Regions from separate parts of the Homo sapiens genome. Here region 2 is linked to region 1. Evidence: promoter capture Hi-C in 16 types of primary human blood cells and fetal thymus (Javierre and others, 2016). All regions are on one chromosome and are shown on one strand. The core of a region is centred on a gene start or on the middle of the fragment in contact, and the rest is flanking DNA. Distances in the headings are between cores, read along the strand shown.

The links. Contacts are between HindIII fragments. The CHiCAGO score rates a contact against its expected background, and 5 or more counts as called.
Region 2: a fragment that was not itself captured here is called in contact with the fragment with the promoter of HYAL2 in region 1 in 1 of 17 cell types (endothelial precursors); the score reaches 6.5 in endothelial precursors.

Annotation. Positions count from the first base shown.
Region 1 is chr3:50,321,495-50,326,024 of GRCh38, reverse strand. HYAL2 (hyaluronidase 2) reads left to right here and starts at 3,280. Exons shown (of 4, transcript NM_003773.5): 1 at 3,280-3,372. It overlaps TUSC2 (tumor suppressor 2, mitochondrial calcium regulator), which reads left to right. Exons shown (of 3, transcript NM_007275.3): 3 at 1-1,116. RefSeq lists a silencer at 1,188-1,377 and enhancers at 1,586-2,087, 2,870-3,543, 4,177-4,516. The HindIII fragment of the contact is 6,890 bases long and covers 1-4,530 here.
Region 2 is chr3:50,168,309-50,172,838 of GRCh38, reverse strand. All of the region lies in intron 2 of SEMA3F (semaphorin 3F), which reads right to left. Among named protein-coding and RNA genes, the nearest start is that of SEMA3F-AS1, 14 kb to the right of the region's middle. RefSeq lists an enhancer at 1,502-2,475 and a silencer at 2,891-3,101. The HindIII fragment of the contact is 1,841 bases long and covers 1,396-3,236 here.

The DNA.
Region 1 (4,530 bases), core at 2,031-4,530:
CACAACCCTGAATAAACTCTGTTGGCCCATAACCTTCAGCTGTGAGCGGGTCGGTCCCACAGTATTGGTTGGGTGTTGGTTTGTGTGTGGACAAGAGGTGGTTGGTGGGTGGTGAAGGCTAATGGCAGAGTTAGCACCCCACTCTCCCAAGCCACCCCTGCAAGCAGCACAGCAGGGCATATACCAGTCAGGAATGCCCGTTACCTGGTTCCTTGCCTGGTCTGCTTTCTTCCAAGTTTGCCTGGGGCCTAGCCCTGCTAGAGGCTACAGCACTTTACAAGCAAGGTATGCTTTCTTCCAGCCCCTAGGCTGTGGGCACTGTATACAAGTAGGAACTTCCTTTCCTTCACTTCCCTTTTAACCCCTAGTCAGAGCATTTCAGCCGTTTGCTACCTCGATTCCTCCTGTGTTGGACAGAGGCTGGGGGCAGTGCCAGCCTGATTCTTCCGACCTACCTGCCATTTGTTCCCGCCTTCAGATGGATGGACAGTTTGCTGGCTATTGATAGGAGTGGGGACTGGGTGGGGGCTTCTCCCTCTACCCAGGGCTGGGCTGATCCCCCTACTGCAACTAACTGTTGCCCCCCAACCCCGAACCCCCAGTTGAGGAGTTGAGAGAGTGCAGGCTGGGGTCAGGACAGGCTGCGGATGCTTGTGCCTATGGGGAGTTACTCCAACCCACCTATTCTGTCTAATCTCCATGGCTTTGCACCAAATCCTCCACCCCTCCAATTGGGAGGGGACTGTTCACCACCTTGTGGTAAGGGACAACACCCTAAGGCTGGTGCCAGTAGTTATGAGTAGCCTACCACCCCCTCCCTTACAGTAACCCCCACCCCTTCAGGATCAGTCAAGGGAAAGCACTAGAACCCCTGGGTAGGGAAAGAAAGGAGGGAAAAACCATAAAAGGAATACTTATAATGTGAAGGTTTGTAAATAGTCCATGATGATGTCGTGGCAGAGTCTGATTTCTATATAGAGGTGACTTTTTTTTTAAGTACTGTGCAAGCTCTGTGCTTCTATAATGTGGGAAATGGCTTGGGGAGGATGGCCCCTAGCTTAGGAAGACTGTTGTGTTATTTGTTCAATTTCAATAAAATGATTTGTAGATCCTGCACATGAGAGTGGCATCCTGTGGGGGCTCTGACACCCAGTGTCTAGACTACCACCTGGGTTCAATAGGTAGGCCTGGCACAGGACTCTGGCAGGCCCCCTATGACCAGCAAAGCCCAAGAGTAAGTCTGAGCCCAGCCTGTGGCCATCCCAACTGTGGCCAGCAGGTGGCTGTGTGTTCACACAGACCTCACTGCAGGCCCCCTGCAGGGTGGGAGGGCACTCATTTATCTGTTGTGATCCATGTGGTGGTGACCCTTGGAATCAGAAGGCCCTGGGATACTTCACTAAGGATTGGCCCCACCTGCCTGATCTAAGGTGAGAGAGTGTGACCCAAGATAGTTCTGGAATATCTGTCTTAGCTGTAGCATCGCCAGCTGATCCTAAGTGGGGTCATGGCCTGACCCCCATGGACCTCAAAGGCCCAGCTTTAATGGACAGCAGCCAGATAGGTGTCCCCACGCCTTTGGCCTACTGCCAGGCTCAGCAACCCAAACTCATGTGCCTCCTCTGAGGCCTGCCTGCGGACACCATGGGAGAATGAGCTCAGGCTGCTGTTTCAGCAAGCAAGGCTCGGCCCACTAGTATTGCCCCTGCTGTCTGTTGCCCCCATCTTCTCATCACCTGCAGCCTGCCCACTGTGGTCATTCTGCCTGCACTTCTCAGGGGCTGCTATAAGGCAGATTCTCTACTAGGCTTAGGCTTTGACTATCAGTCCAACTCCCAGTTAAAGAGGGGAGATTTCAGGGACAGGCTTCTGAGTGTAGGGAGCTGGTCTGCCAGTCTTTCGGAGGTTTGAACTTGTCAAGGCTAGGGCAGGATCACCATATCCAGCCTGGACTTGCAGTTCTGTGGGGTGCCTCCCCATACCCCCATAAGATGCCAAACATGAGGCCCTGTCATCCTCCATGGTCCCCCTCTACTGGCTGTTCAAGGCCCAGGGCTCTCCCATGCCAGATAGCATCCTGTCTCCTACCACCACTGTCCCAGCCTGAGGGAACTCCCTGTGCTGGGCCTACCCAGCTGACCCCATCGCTGGAAACAATGGGGGTCAGGCAACACTTCCCCACTCTCTCCCGCCGGGCTGTGCTCACTTCCTTCCTGCTGGCTGCCTGAGGAAGTGTCCCTGCCCTGGGACAGTCTGGCCTAGCCTTTGTTTCCCCGGGGGTCCCCACCCATGGAGCTTTCAAGGCTTCTGGCCCCTGTGAAGCCAGCACAGTGGTACAGGGACACTGCACCTTCCCCTACCATGTCTTGGACTCCTTGGTCCTCAGGGCCAGACTCCTGGGTATTCACCTACCCCTCACACAGCCTTCTGTTGGGGGAGAGGCTCCTGGGCATTGGGCCATTGGGTTGTTGAGGGGTTGGCTCTGGGTGATTTGAGGGTAGGTAGATTTGCACCCCTGGAGAGGTCTGCTGGAACCTTGCTGCAGTCCTCCCTAGGGCCAGCCACAGGAACACCCCTCCCAGAGGAGTATACCCCTTTCCTCATCCATGTTGTAAGGAGCCCCCTACTCTGTATAGTGGACTCTGAAATCCATCCAGGAATGAACTCCAGCAGGAAAGCACTCTGCAGAACCCTCCCAGTCCATCCCCTCCTCCCCAACCCACACAGTCACACTCACTAACACATTGTCCTGTCACACAGGATGCGGAAGCTCTCAGTGGAAAAAAACGGACTCAGCTACTGGAAGTCCCCCCGACCCTCCCCCCAAGGCTAGTTCCCTTCTTGGGCACCTGCTCTGGGGGACCATCAGCTGAACGACCCCCAAGTATTTTGACTCCCAAAAGCACCACCACCTGACCCCATCCTCTCACACCCTACTGGATTTGAGGATGGGCCCCAATCCTAGGGAAGGAGTGAAGAGGTTCCCTAGTGTTGGAAGCTGTGGGTGTGGGGGAGATTGGCACCTGATCCTGAGCCCATAGCCTTCCTGTCACCTGGCGCAGCTGGCGGGGCCAGATCCTACTCGGGAAGGGTGGGGAGGGCAGCCAGCCAGCAGGGCATTCTGGAGGGAAACAGGGTCAAGGCGATCTCCTCCCCCACGCCTGTTCCTGGCCCTTTCCTCTCAGGGGGCAGCAGGAAGTGAGGAGAAAGGGCTGGGATGGGAGGCGGGAGCGGATGGGAGGGAATGGGGTTTATCAAGTCCTCGGCGAGCTGCCCAACGGGCAGCAGCTGGCGCAAGTAGCCTAGCTGGAGAGGCTCACCCCAGGAAGGAGGGAGGCCACCGACCTACTGGGCCGACGGACTCCCACACAGGTGAGCCCAGAGCAGACGGCTGGTCTGCACCCCCACAGATGCGCTCGCAGTTGCACTCCCTCCCTCTCCTGGCGCCCGGGAGGGTTAGGGGCTGGTGGTGCAGACGCGGGCCCTTTTGGGAGTTGAGTCTCGCACAAGGGAGCGGACCTAGGAAGAGCCGAGGTGGTTTCGCACGGGGCTCGCCAGGGTCTAAGCCTGCCCCCCACCGGGAGAGGCCTGTGGAGCGTAGGGGGCGCTGGATACGGGATGGAGGCCCTGGGAGACCCCTCTTGCTGGCTTTCTCGGAGGTCCAGCCAGAAACTGCTGCAAGGAATGGAGGCCTCCTCGGGGTTGAGAGGGAGCCGGGCTCCCAAAGGACCTCAGAGACTGGGCAGAAAAGGACGGGATCTCAGGGATGACTGTCCCGCCCTGATGCGAGTCAGGGAGAGGGGCGGCCAACCTCCTAGACCCCTCTGAGCTTCCCTGACCCCAACCCTGCGGCCACGCCGCGACCCAGAGCCGGGCTGCCAGGATAACGACTGCCTCGGCCCTTCCTGGGCCGGCTAAGAAGCGGTGCTTGGCCCCTTCCCTCAGTCTGGCAGGGGGCGGGGCCTCCCTTTAGACGGCGGACCAGAGAAGGGGGCCCCTGATTCGTGGGAGGCGGGGCACTACTCTCCAGGAGACCAGAGGTCGCCTCAGGTCAAAGTCCCTTTTTCCACACAAAGGGGACCCACGGCTGGCGTCTACGTTAGGGGGTGCAGAGCCAGATCTGGTGCTGCCCCCTGCCAACCTCGGAGTACCACAGCACCTCCTGATGGCCGAACGGGGCAACGCCTCCTCCTATTCCCCCCCCCCCCCTTCCCGTCCCCCTGCCTTGTCCCTCACACTGTCTCTTTAAAGGGCTGGCGGCGCCGCGGAGCTGGGAGGACTGAACCACCGGCCTCGGGCTGCAGGGGAAACATTTCAGGCTGACTGGCGCTCGTGGCTGAGACTCCCATAGAAAGCCCGGCTCAGAGGGGCATTAGGGTCCTAAATGGGCGGCCACGTCCCTCTGCAGAGGACCTGGGGCTCTTCGAGCCCGAAACGAGGCACCGGCACCGAGAAAGGTGGACCACACCTTCCCGCCCCGTCCGCAAGTCCAATCCCGGGCCCACCTCCGCACTGGAGTCTTAAAGGGCC
Region 2 (4,530 bases), core at 1,067-3,566, 150 kb after region 1:
GCCTGGATGCCCTGTTCTTACCCTGGCTGCCCACCAGGCAGAGGGCACAGCTGGTGCACAGCAAGGTCCTCACTTGGTCTGAAGCAGGTTAGCCAGGAGACCAGAAAGCCCTGCTGGACACACTGCCCTACGGACCCCAGCTTCCCCCAGACCCTATAAGGCTGCTAATGGTGGAACTCTCAGGCCACCTTGAATGAGCCAGGACAGTCATTTCTGGGAAAGAGGCTCTCTCCCTGGAGCTACAACCCTGGGGCTAAAGGCAGGGTTCAACTGGGTCCTCTAGTTTCCCTTTTGCATGAGTCCAGCAGCCTTGGCCCCTCCAACTCCAGGATGCTGGGGAAAAGTCCTTCCTAAGGATGAAGGACAGGAGGGGGCTCAGACAATGACAGACAAAGGACTCCTAGAAGCTTGGGAACCTGCCTCCAAGGGGAGGGAGAGCCGAGGGGTCCCCTTGGCAAGCCCCCTCTCCACCCACCCCCAGCTATCTTTAGCTCAGCAAAAGAGGGAACACTGTAATGAGGATGATGAATATTCACACACACAGGGGGCTTAAGATAGCAGCACACAGAAGAGTGCATGCATGTATACACGTGGCACAGGCATGCACATGGCGCACACATGTCCTACCACACATGAGGCACTCACCAAGGGGGTCACACATGTCTCATCTCCCCTCCCCAGCTGGTAACCCATTTCACAGGTGGGGCAGTCAAGGGAGAGGCCTGGGCCAGGCCCCAAGGCACCTGGAGGGGGAGAACAGCTGGGATCCGAGGCCCTAGACACAGCCTGAAGGTGGGGCAGAGGTGGGCTGGGGTCAGGGGGTTCCACCAGCTGACCCAGAGCCCATGTCTGGTCCCAGGACCTCACTCTGAGAAACTAGTGGGTAAGGAAAGGTCTTGCCCTGCCTGGCCCTGACTATGCGGTGACAAGGGAATGCAGGTGATGACCTTGGCCAACCGCTGGGACGCAGGGACGCCGAGGGATCAAAGGGCCGATCCTGCCTGGCGATGGCCTCACCCGCCTGTCCAGCGGCGCCTCTGAAGTCCTGGGCAGGGCGGCCCAGGCACCTGTCCCGCACCTGTTGTTGGGCCACTCGGAGTCCCCCGCCTGGCCGCTCACCCGCCTGGCTGCTCACCCACAGTGACAACAGGAAAGTAAACATTCCCCCACCCCCAGGGCTGGGAAGTGGCCAGAGAGGAAGTGGGGCTGCCAGTGGAGCCCCCCCAGGCTGGGACAGCCCGCCAGGGGTTATTTATACCCTGGCTGGGGGCATGGCTCGGTCATGCCCTTACCCATCCCCTGGGCTAGGGGGCACTTTGGGGGCAATGGCAGGGGGAGGGGCTAGAGGCTTAAGTGGGCGCCTTCAGACACGGGCACTCCGGGTAAGGGGAAGCTTCAGCCATTAAGCCCCCAGGAACCCAATCAGCCATAATCCCCAAGCTCCAACCCTGCGCAGCCTTGGGCCTCTATAATATCAACCCTGCACCAAGACTCCCAGAGCCCGAGGCCCAAGTCCGAGTCCCCTACCCTCTTGCAAAGCCCCAGCACTCCCAAACTCCAGCTCCCTCTGTGAGAAAGGCCGTAGAGAACACTCAGAGGATGAGGAAACTGAGTCCCAGCTTAGGGGCAGAGGATTGGCCTCGACCCTCTCTGCCTGCTGCCCCCAGTCTGCCCCTGGGTGGAGGTGGGGGTGGAGGGAGCCCCTTGCTCAGTTATCGAACACCCGCTGTGCACAAAGCCCTGTGCTCACAATACCAAGGGCACAGGGCACAGGGAAGGGATGTGACATGCCAGAGTGCATGGGGGTGGGATTCCCACCTAGGTCCATGGCTGAAGGAGGGGGAGGCCCAGGGGAAGCCAGTCCTGGTGGTAGAGACTGCCTGCCAGGAGGGCCAGGGCCGGAAGGTGACTCGCTCCCCGTGGACAGGGCACATGACTCAGGACCTGCGGGACCCCTCCCAGTGGCCACGGGATATGGCGTCAATGGCTCTGGTGTCACAGGACGTGACGCTTTGGTCACTGTGGAAACAGTGTGGGGGGAGGGGGAGCCCCAGGAGGTCGCGCATGGTGGGGAAGGGGTGGGACCCAGGATCAGGGATCCTTGGCTATGGCTTGAGTTTCTGGGTGAGCTTCATGACCTGAGTTGGGGGCACTCTCGCTCTCTGAGCCTCATTCTCTAGTCTAGACCATCTCTCAGGCCCTCCTGGTACTGATATTCAAAGTGACCCTGAGGATCAGTGACCCCGTTCTGATCTCAGAGAGAGGCTCACGGCCTGGCATTCCTCAGGTCTTCCCCCAACCCATCCTTCATGGGTGTCTCTGCCTTTCAGGGAAAGGAGAGTGGAATGAGGTCCCAAGTCCTTCCCCAAGGAAGCAGGCTTCCACGTGTCGCTATCTCTTGTAGGGCATCCATCCCCATTCCCACCCCAGCTACTCCATTTCCTAGTGCTAGATTGGGGAGCAGAGAGGGCTATAAGGCAGGAAGAGGCAACCTGTGGACTCAGCTCCAGCCTTCCCAACTCCAGTGTGTCCTTACCCCATCCCCAACCCACAGGAATAGAGCTAAATCCCAAACCATTCATCCAAACCCAGCCTACCAGAGGGGAACCAAGGTGGAGAGGGGTGGGAACTTCCCCGGGTCCCAGAGCAAAGAAGGTGTAAGGTTCCAGCCTTCTCAACCCACAGCTGGACTTCTGACCCCACTCATGCCAGACTGTAGGTGAAAAGGGAAACAAGGAGCCCTGTGACAGCCCTGCACCCCCAGCTGCAGACAGGAAGACTGAGGCCCAAAGGAGAGTGGTACTCAACCCAGGTCACAGGGTGTCCTGTCCCCTGCTCCCCACTCCACCATGAGGCAAAGGAACTGGGAGCCTTCACTCCTCCAAGCAGCCTGAGTCAGAGCAGGGGGTGGGCAAGTAGCCCTGGGTATCCTCCTCCAAAACCTGCCATCAGCAGGTGCCAGATCCTACCAGGCCCCAGCTCCCTTAAGGGACAGGGACTTGGGACAGAAGGAACAAAGGAACCTGGGACCTGAGGTGGCATCAGTGGGGGCCAGGGCTGATGCAGACCCAGCCTGGTCATGTCCTAAGGCCAATCCCCACATCTGCTCCACTTGTCCCACGCCCGGCTCTGGCAGCAGGAGCGCCATGCCTCCTCGAATGCCATGGCAATGTTGAGGGAGGGGCTGGGCACAATCAAGGGTTCTGTGGGGATCAGGACTCCAGCCCAGATAAGCTTTGACCTTAGGGGGAGGAAGGGTGGTGTGCCTGGGTGCTGTCTCCTGGGAAGGGCTCCCCACCCCCATACTCTCACCCAGGCTGGGCACAGGTTGGGAGGGGTGACATCCGGGAAGGATTTTCCCATCATCGGGAAGGAAGAGCCTTTTCTGGCATCAGACACCTCATTTCCGCAGCCATTCCTGGCCTCCAGGACTCTCTCATGGCCATCAAGCACTTGGGGTCCCAGCCCAAAGCGGCCTGGCACAGGTCCAGAGGCAGGACCTTCTCAAGGCACACGGGGCTGGGTCCTGGGGGCCCCCGGTCCCTCATATCTGGGAAGCAGCTGGTGATACCTTACTTTAAAGGTGCGGGCAGGTGAGGACAGGCACTGAGGAGGCGTGTCCACAGCCCTCACCCGAAGACCCCAAGTGGGCAGCCCCTACCCCTTGCTGCTGGTCTCCAGGACATCAGGTCTGCGTGCAGTGAGGTGTGGGCTGCCGCAAAAAGAGGAGTCTTGGAGCAGAGGTGGGCAGCCCGCCCCCTTGGTTATAGCCCCACAAAGCAGCAGGCCCTGACTGACAGCGTCACCTCCCCCAGCAGTGATGGGGACTGGGGATGATAGACAGATCCCTGCAGCCTAGCTCAGACCTCTGACCTCTAGTGAGCCAGTGCAGCCCTAATCCCTGAGCTGAAGAGAGATGGGACTGGGGGACAAGGGGAGGCACCAGCCTGGGTCTTTGTCAGTGTTTCACCCACCGGAAAGACAGACCTCCTGACCTTCTGAGGAGGGAAACTGAGGTAGCCAAGGCTATAGTAGCAGTGGCGGCAAGAGGCATGGCAGGGCCCAGGTGGTCCCTACCGGATACCCCCACAGGATCCAGGAAGGGGTGGCCCCGGCCCTTTTATCACTCCCCCAAAGCTGTGAGGAGCCCCAGAGGAAGGCCTGGGGACTGGGCTGGCCCCCTGGCTCTCAGCCTAATCCTCTTTTAATGAGCGGCCAGCCGGAAGGCCTCAGCCCATGGCCACAGACCTACAACCCCGGGAACCCCAGCCAAGCTAAGCGGGGGGGCAGGGAGGCCCAGATGCCTTTGTACGTACCTTCCTCCTGCTTGGCACACCCACTTACACCCCAACGCCACCCTGATCAGGCCAACCCAGGGCCCAGTATGTGCAGAGACACACCTGAGTGACGCCTGCCTTGGGCTCCCACAGACCCACTCTTGGGCACTTACCATTTGTTCAAGCCCAGGTCCCACATGGGGCTGGGCAGGGGAGACTATCACTGCTGATCTGGGGTAGCTCCTCCAGTTCC